Linked DNA regions of Homo sapiens: region 1 is linked to region 2. The links are contacts of gene promoters, found by promoter capture Hi-C in human tissues and cell types (Jung and others, 2019). All regions are on one chromosome and are shown on one strand. Each heading gives the region's core, a stretch centred on a gene start or on the middle of the fragment in contact. The rest is flanking DNA. Distances are from core to core; before and after follow the strand shown.

The links. Contacts are between HindIII fragments. The study calls those that stand out against the background at their distance.
Region 1: a contact is called between a fragment that was not itself captured here and the fragment with the promoter of ADCY6 in region 2, in 2 of the 25 tissues and cell types used here (H1 embryonic stem cells and heart right ventricle).

What each region holds. Positions count from the first base shown.
Region 1 is chr12:48,672,540-48,676,753 of GRCh38, reverse strand. All of the region lies in intron 4 of KANSL2 (KAT8 regulatory NSL complex subunit 2), which reads left to right. Among named protein-coding and RNA genes, the nearest start is that of SNORA2B, 7.1 kb to the right of the region's middle. The HindIII fragment of the contact is 6,757 bases long and covers 1-4,214 here.
Region 2 is chr12:48,787,314-48,791,378 of GRCh38, reverse strand. ADCY6 (adenylate cyclase 6) reads left to right here and starts at 2,290. Exons shown (of 22, transcript NM_015270.5): 1 at 2,290-2,473. It overlaps ADCY6-DT (ADCY6 divergent transcript), which reads right to left and starts at 2,232. Exons shown (of 3, transcript NR_110019.1): 1 at 2,152-2,232; 2 at 1,260-1,394; 3 at 844-1,066. RefSeq lists an enhancer at 3,343-3,887. The HindIII fragment of the contact is 15,533 bases long and covers 1-4,065 here.

The DNA of each region.
Region 1 (4,214 bases), core at 1,353-3,852, 110 kb after region 2:
AAGTAACCACTTACTTAATTGTTTTGTTAAAAGTAAAGCTTGTTTATGGCCAGGCGTAGTGACTTACGCATGTAATCCTCGCACTTTTTTTTTTTGACACGAAGTTTCACTCTTGTCACCCAGGCTGGAGTGCAATGGTGCGATCTCAGCTCACTGCAACCTCCGCCTCCCGGGTTCAAATGATTTTCCTGCCTCAGCCTCCCGAGTAGCTGGGATTACAGGTGCCCGCCACCACACCCAGCTGATTTTTGTGTTTTTAGTAGAGACGGGGTTTCTCCATGTTGGCAGGCTGGTCTTGAACTCCTGATCTGAGGTGATCTGCCCGTCAGCCTCCCAAAGTGCTGGGATTACAGGGACGAACCAGTGCGCCCAGTGATCCTAGCACTTTGGGAGGTCGAGGTGGGAGGATTGCTTGAGCCCAGGAGTTCGAGACCAGCCTGGGCAACATAGGGAGACACCGTCTCTACGAAAGATTTAAAAATTAGCCAGACGTGGTGGTGCACGTGGTCTGTAGTCTTAACTACTCGAGAGGCTCAAGTAGGAGGATGGCTTGAGCCTGGGAGGTTGAGGCTCTGTGATCGTGCCACTGCATTCCAGTCTGGGCAACAGAGGGAGACCCTATCTCATACACACAGAAAAAATAAATAAAAGCTTGTCTACAACATCTAATACTTAAGAAATTTTATCCTTAAGGTAATTGTTAAATTTTCATTTCCCTTTTTTAAATAATAATTGTATCATATGACCTCTATAAACATCTATAACTTGTTTGGCTGAAGGTTATTTCACATTATTGAATCTTCATCATTGTTTTCCAAATAAATTTGGAGAATGCCCTTTATAAGAGAGACTATTTAGTAGAATATAAGGTGAGACCCTCTTTTTTGAAGATGAATGCTAATAATAAAACCTTGACTTTAATTTGTGCATACCAGAGCAAGGGGAATTAGTACATAATTTTAATGTCCGGCTCTGAAAGTCTGGCGCATTCATCTTTAAGTAAATGAGCCATCTGTTACATGAACCAGCCGGCATTCATTTAGTAGGTTGCTTACTGCCCCCACCAAATGATTTCTAATAACTTCTAATAGTAATGGCTTCAGATAGGTACATTTCAGTTCCAGACCATTGGTTAAATTCTCTTCTGACAGGGTGCAGTGAAATTAATTTTTTAAAACAATTTTTATTTTTCTCATTTTCAGTATTCAAAAAGTGAATTTCATTTTAACAAACTCTATATTAGGTTAAGGCCTCAGTATTTTAGGTTACAGACAGGTTAATGTAGGCATAACCCATTTTTCTGAAGATGTAACTTAGTCACCTTGTGAAACCGTTATGTATTTATTTTTGAGACGGACTCTCACTCTGTTGCCAGGCTGGAGCGCAGTGGCACGATCTCAGCTCACTGCAACCTTTGCCTCCTGGGTTCAAGCAATTCTTCTGCCTCAGCCTCCCTAGTAGCTGGGACTACAGGCGCACGCCGCTGTGCCCGGCTAATTTCTTTCTTTTTTTTGTATTTTAGTAGAGATGGGGTTTCACCATGTTGCCCAGGCTGGTCTCAAACTCCAGAGCTCAGGCAGTATGCCCACCTCGGTCTCCCAAAGTGCTAGAATTACAGGCTTGAGCCACCGTGCCCAGCCAACTGTTACATATTTTTAAAGCCTTTTCACATTTTCTGATAGTCTGTTAGCTTTTGTCATTTCTGTAATTTGCTGGTTTTATTTTATTTTATTTATTTTTAAATTTATTTTTTATTAATTTTATTTTATTATATATTATTTTTATTTATTTATTTAATTTGTTTATTTTATTTAATTTTTTATTTTTGGAGACAGAGTCTCGTTCTGTCGCCCAGGCTGGAGCGCGGTGGTGCGATCTCGGCTCACTGTAATCTCTGCCTACCAGGTTCAAGTGATTCTCCTGCCTCAGCCTCCCGAGTAGCTGGGATTATAGGTGCTTGCCACCATACCTGGCTAATTTTTGTATTTTTAGTAGAGAGGCTGTTTTGCCATGTTGGCCAGGCTGGTCTCGAACTCCTGACCTCAAGTGATCCACCCACCTTGGCCTTGTGCACCACACCTGGCCCTTTGCTGGTTTTATTAACCATGTTTTGATTTTTCTTAATTTCTTTTCACTTTTACTTCAGAATATAGTTAAGTACCTCTTATACACAGGTAATATTGGCTTTTGTTTATATTTATGAAGAAATTTTGGCAGAAATTACTTGCTCTCAGTCCTAAAGTTAATTTTGTATATTCTGTGTATTTCAGTGCCTTAACAGCTAGTTTTTAAAAATAAAGCAGAGGCTGGCCACAGTGGCTCACGCCTGTAATCCTAGCACTTTGGGAGGCCGAGTCGGGTGGAATGCCTGAACTCAGGAGTTTGAGACCAGCCTGGGAAACATGGTGAAACCCCATCTCTACTAAAAATACAAAAAATAAAAAAATTAGCCAGGTGTGGTGGCACACGCCTGCAATCTCAACTACTGTGGAGGCTGAGGCACGAGAATTGCTTGAACCCGGGAGGCGGAGGTTGCAGTGAGCCAACATTGTGCCACTTCAGTGCAGCCTGGGAAACAGAGCAAGACTCTGTCTTAAAAACGAAAAAGTAATAAAGCATAATTTTTTGACTTAAAATTAGTATAATTTATGTGTTTTGCCTTTTCAATAAAATTTTTACTCAGTATGAAACTTAAGGTATATAGCTTGTTCTTTGTATTTATGTAATGATCAGACGGTGAGTGAAACAAAATTTTTAAAATTCAAAGTTATTCACTTATTTATTTATTTATTTATTTATTTTTGAGACATGGTCTTGCTCTGTCACCCAGGTTGGAGTGCAGTGGCGCCATCTCAGCTCACTGCAGCCTCCCACTCCCAGGCTGAAGTGATCCTTTCACCTCAGTCTCCTGAGTATCTGGGACTACAGGTATACACCACCGTGCCCAGCTAACTTTTGTATTTTTTGTATTGACAGGGTTTTATCATGTTACAGCCCAGGCTGGTCTTGAACTCCCAGGCTCAAGCAATCTGCCTGCCTCGGCCTCCCAAAGTGCTGGGATTACAGGCGTGAGCTATCACACCTGGCCTCATCTCTTAATTTTGATTGCATAAATCAGAGCCAGAGAACAGTCTACCATATATTAATCACTAGCAAAACTTTTAGAAGTTCTTTTTTTTTTTTTTTCTTTTTTTGAGATGGAGTCTTGCTCTGTCACCCAGGCTGGAATGCAGTGGCACGATCTCAGCTCACTGCAACCTCTGCCTCCCGGGTTCAAGCAATTCTCCTGCCCCAGCCTCCCGAGTAGCTGGGATTATAGGCGCCCACCACCATACCTGGTTGATTTTCGTATTTTCAGTAGAGACGGGGTTTCGCCATGTTGGCCAGGCTGGTCTTGAACACCTGACCTCAGGTGATTCGCCTGCCTTGGCCTCCCAAGGTGCTAGGATTACAGGTGTGAGCCACCGTGCCTGGCCAGATATTCTTTTAGTTTATAATTGGCAGCAAAGCTTAATCAAGTTGATATGGATCCGTGCCAGATCTTTGGCAATTAAGGGTTAACCTAGGGTACTGAATTTTGAGAATATTGTCAAGAAAATTAGCTGAGGACAGGGTATAGCCCATTTTGACTAGTTATTTGAGGGTCCATATGAGCTCCAATATAGGCCTATATTTTTTAAACAATTACAAATTTTGGCTGGGCACAGTGGCTCATGCCTGTAATCCCACCACTTTGGGAGGCCGAGGCTGGAAGATCGATCTGAGGTCAGGAGTTAAGACCAGCCTGACCAACATGGAGAAACCCCATCTCTACTGAAAATATAAAAATTAGCTGGGCGTGGTGGTAGGTGCCTGTAATGCCAGCTACTTGGGAGGCTGAGACAGGAGAATCACTTGAACCTGGGAAGCGGAGGTTGCAGTGAGCCAAGGTTGTGCCACTGCACTCCAGCCTGGGTGACAGAGCAAGACTGTCTCAAAAAAAAAAATTATTTGATGTTGGTATCTTTAGTGCTTTAATTAAAATATATTGCCAGGTGCAGTAGCTTATGCGTTTAATTCCAGCACTTTGTGAGGCTGAGGCGGGAGCATCGCTTAAACCCAGGGGTTCAAGCCTGGACAACATGGTGAAATCCCATCTCTACAAAAAATACAAAAATTAACCAAGTGGGGTGGTGCACACCTGTAGTCCCAGCTACTCGGCAGGCTGACGTGGG
Region 2 (4,065 bases), core at 1,041-3,540:
GACTGCAGTGGCGCAATCTCCGCTCACTGCAAGCTCCGCTTCCCGGGTTCACGCCATTCTCCTGCCTCAGCCTCCCGAGTAGCTGGGACTACAGGCGCCCCCCACTACGCCCAGCTAATTTTTTGTGTGTTTTTAGTAGAGATGGGGTTTCACTGTGTTAGCCAGGATGATCTTGATCTCCTGACCTTGTGATCCGCCCGCCTCAGCCTCCCAAAGTGCTGGGATTACAGGCATGAGCCACCGCACCCGGCCTAAAATTTCATTTTTTAACGCATATTTATCTCAATTGTTTTTTGCATTTTCCCCATGTGGCTCATGAGCACATTATTCTAAGCGTAAGTGGTAGATAACCTGATTCAGGTATTTTGAAGAGGAAATTTTGATAGCAAAAACAATTTTTTTTTTTTGAGACGGCGTCTCGCTCTGTCTCCCAGGCTGGAGTGCAATGGCGTGATCTCGGCTCACTGCAACCTCCGCCTCCCGGGTTCAAGCGATTCTCCTGCCTCAGCCTCTCGAGTAGCTGGGACTACAGGTGCCCGCCACCACGCCCAGCTAATTTTTAATAGAGACGGGGTTTCACCATGTTGGCCAGAATGGTCTCGATTTCTTGACCTTGTGATCCACCCGCCTCGGCCTCCCAAAGTGCTGGGATTACAGGCGTGAGCCACCGCGCCCGGCCAGCAAAAACAATTTTTAAGGAAATTTTGAAGTGAGAAGTCAGGCAAAGAGGCCCCAAAGATCAAATTGCAGGCCAGGCCTGCACAACTGAGAAATGAGAAAGTACCACTTTCCCATTTTCAAACATTATAACAAACATTTCTCTATCTGATTCTGAAAACCCTGTAAGAAAGACAAGGCAGATGGTTTTATTCCCATTTCAAGAGATTGATGATTTACCCAAGGTATATAGTTTGCAGGTACACGTGGCTGATAAATGTTGGAAACTGGCTTTCCCAACTCTTCTTTTCCTTGCCTGAAGCTCTGTCCTGGACTTAGGAATCCCAGTGGTGATTTGGAGTGGACAAGACTTGAGTCTTGAAGGACAGGACTGCAGGGAGGGCTGGTCCTGAGGAGGAAGCATCTTCAGATACCTAGGTCTTGGGATCTTGGGTGGGGAATAGGCTGCTTGGGGAAGGGCTGAATTGGAAGGAGGAGCTAGAGGTCTGACTGAGGGAATGGAGAGGGGGCCTCAAAAGGAAGCCAGGCAGGCTGCCTTCTTCCCAGCTCCAGAATGGCACCCCCTCTAAAGTCACACTCACCTACGTACATCCTGGAGTGAAACTCCTTCTCCTTTCTGCTTCCACCATTACTCTAATCCTCAAAGGGTTAACCAGCTTTCACACGATTTTCCCATCTCCCAGGTAACTTGGGCAGCTGCTCCGTGCTGGAAATAACTAAAGACCCAGTTTCTCAGTTCGTGCACTTAGCAATGCACCCCAGTAGCCCCTCCAACCCCCAGCAGAGAAGCACAGCCCTTTGGGTAAAAGATGCCTGGGGGTGAGGCTGCAAGTTGGCAGGTGCGGGGGAGGGGCTCCCAGAGAGTAGGGCGGGGGGTTGTGGGGGCGGCAGGGAGAGTGCCCCTTCCCTGGGTCCCTCCACTGGGCCCCGAGGTTCGCCTCGGGGCCGCTGCCCCAGAGACTGGGGGGAAGAGGAAAGAAGTGGTGTGCGGGCAAGCAGGCCGCACACACCTGGCGCCTTGTGGAATGAGAGCTTAATTAATTATTAAACTGAGTTCCCGCGGGAGGGCGCAGGGCCGTGACAGGCAGGGCGGGAATGGCTAGGTGGGGGCTGGGGCTGGGGCAGGGGCAGGGAGGAATTGGGGATGAAGAGTGGGCGCGGGGCGCCGGCCCAACCCCTGGGACCCTGACAGGAAGGAAGGCGACCCTCGGTGGGCGGGGCGGGGGATGTAGCCGTGAGGGGTGGGTTTGCGGGCGCGCTCGGGGACCCCCGGGGTGAGGGCGGGAGAGGAATGCCGGAGGAGGCGGCCGGGGTGAAGGGAAGGGGACCGGGCTGCGAGGTCCCCTCCCCGCGGGGTCTTGATCCCAGAACAGTAGCTGCTTGTCTTCCCAGGACTGGGGGAGGAAGCGGCCGGAGGAGAGGAGGGGGCGCGCGGAGGGAGGGGTCCCATTATTTGGCCTCCTCCGCCCCTACCCCGCTGCTAGGAAGGGGAGTGGGCAACTCGGCCCCCACTTCTGGGGAGGGGGAGGGGGATGCCCAGACAAAAGGAGCTTGTGCCTTTAAGGCGGGGAGTCCGGGAGCCAGCGGGGAGGGGACTTCTGGATCCGGGGTAGAGGGCGGCTGCGCTGGACAGCTCGGGAGGGGGCGAGGGCCGGGCGGACGGCGGACGGCGGACGGCGGGCGGGACGGCCAGGACGCGCGGGCTCGGAGGACCGCGGGACGGCCGGCCGGCCGGCCGGAGCCCGCGGGGGCGGCGGGGCGGGGGCCCAGGGCAGGCGCGGAGCCGGGCCGGCAGGTGAGCGCGCTGAGGGCTAGGGGAAGTGGCCGCTCGGGCTCCCGGTGCGCCAGGATTGGAACGCACCCGAGCGGCTCTCGACAAGAGTTTGTGGGTGGGGGCGCCGAAGCCTTGGACGGGTCGTCTCGGCAGTGTTGCCCGAGGGAGTTGGGGTTGGCAAAGGGAAGTCATGGAGGCAGTGGGATCGAGGACTCCTAGGTCCGGCGCTCGCCACCCCCGTCGCCCGCCGCCTGCCTCCCTCCACGGGGCGAGTTCCAGGCTGGCCCGGAGGCCAGGAGGATCTGGCACGTACTGGGGGAGGGGCTGGCCTGAGTTTTTTGCTGCGGGGCTGTGGGGTGTCTCCGAGTTTGGGGGAGATTCCATTTAGGGGAGAGGAACCGGCCTGGGCAGAGGGAGGGATGCCCTCTGTCTGCGGGAGTCCCTCTCCTTCCCCTCACCCAAAACCTTGGGAATGAAAGGGGTGGGGTCGGCTCCCCACATCCCCCAAGGCCTGCCGCAGGGTGGGCAGGGGAGCTGACTTTATTCAAAGCAGACTCTGGGGCTCGACTGAAAGGCTAGAGGTGGAATCAGGCGTGGGAGCCTCTTTGCCCATATCCTCTCCTTACCAGATTACCCCTGTGAGCTGGAGGGACCTGGTGGGGGTTGCATAGTAAAGGGTGATGTGGGAGCCCTCTGTAATCTTTAGGGAGAGTGAGGACTGGGGATGGGAGAAGGCGGCAGCGGGCACTGGACCGACAGATACAGGCCCTGGGTAGGCTCCTCTACATCTGGAAAGGCCCAGAATTGAAGAATTGAGGCCCATGTCCGAGTATGGTGGGTGGTGCTGGCACTGCTGGGCCCCGCCTGGGCAGTGCCTCTTACCATGAACTTTCTGAAGTCGTTTTTAATCCCCTGGAGCCTCCTTTTGCCAAGGAGGGCAGGGGCAGATGGGCCCTGGGGATGGGATAGACAGGAGGTGGCCAGGAAGGCTTGGCAAGGCAGTGGGCAGAGCCATCCTTAGGGCTGGGCCTTGGCCTTGGCTGGTTCCAAACTCTGGTCTCAGCCTGATCAGGGTTTGGGAGGGACTTGAGGTCTGGGAGGCACTGAGCCTGGGCCTGCCAGGCTGAATGGGACATGGCTGTGGCTGTGGGAGCCGGTGGTATGAAGAACAGCAGATCTGTGAGAGTGCAAATGGACCAACACTCAGGGGAGGAGAAGGTAGAGGCACAAGGCTTAGGAGCCTGACTCTGGGGAGGAGGGAGGTGGTCTGTGCTCCCAGGGCTCATAGTGATGGGTTGCTGGACAAAGTGGGTTGGGGGACCATATAGAGAAATTTTGTGGCTTGGAACAGTGCTCTACCCTGTTTCCTGCCATACCAGTCTGGCATGGGGTGCCAGAAATGTTGGGAGGCCGGCAAGTTCTGCGGGATGGGCAGTGCCTGGAGTGGAGCCCAGGGTGGGATGGTTGCAGTTGGTTGGACAATTACATAGCTCTGAAGCTATCCCCTTGGGGGGGGTCAGAGTGTTCCTGGGAGGGTCATGCATTCTCCTGGATAGCATTTGCCCCTTTCTCTGTGAGTATGAGCCAGATGCTAGGATGTGTTTCCAGGGGGC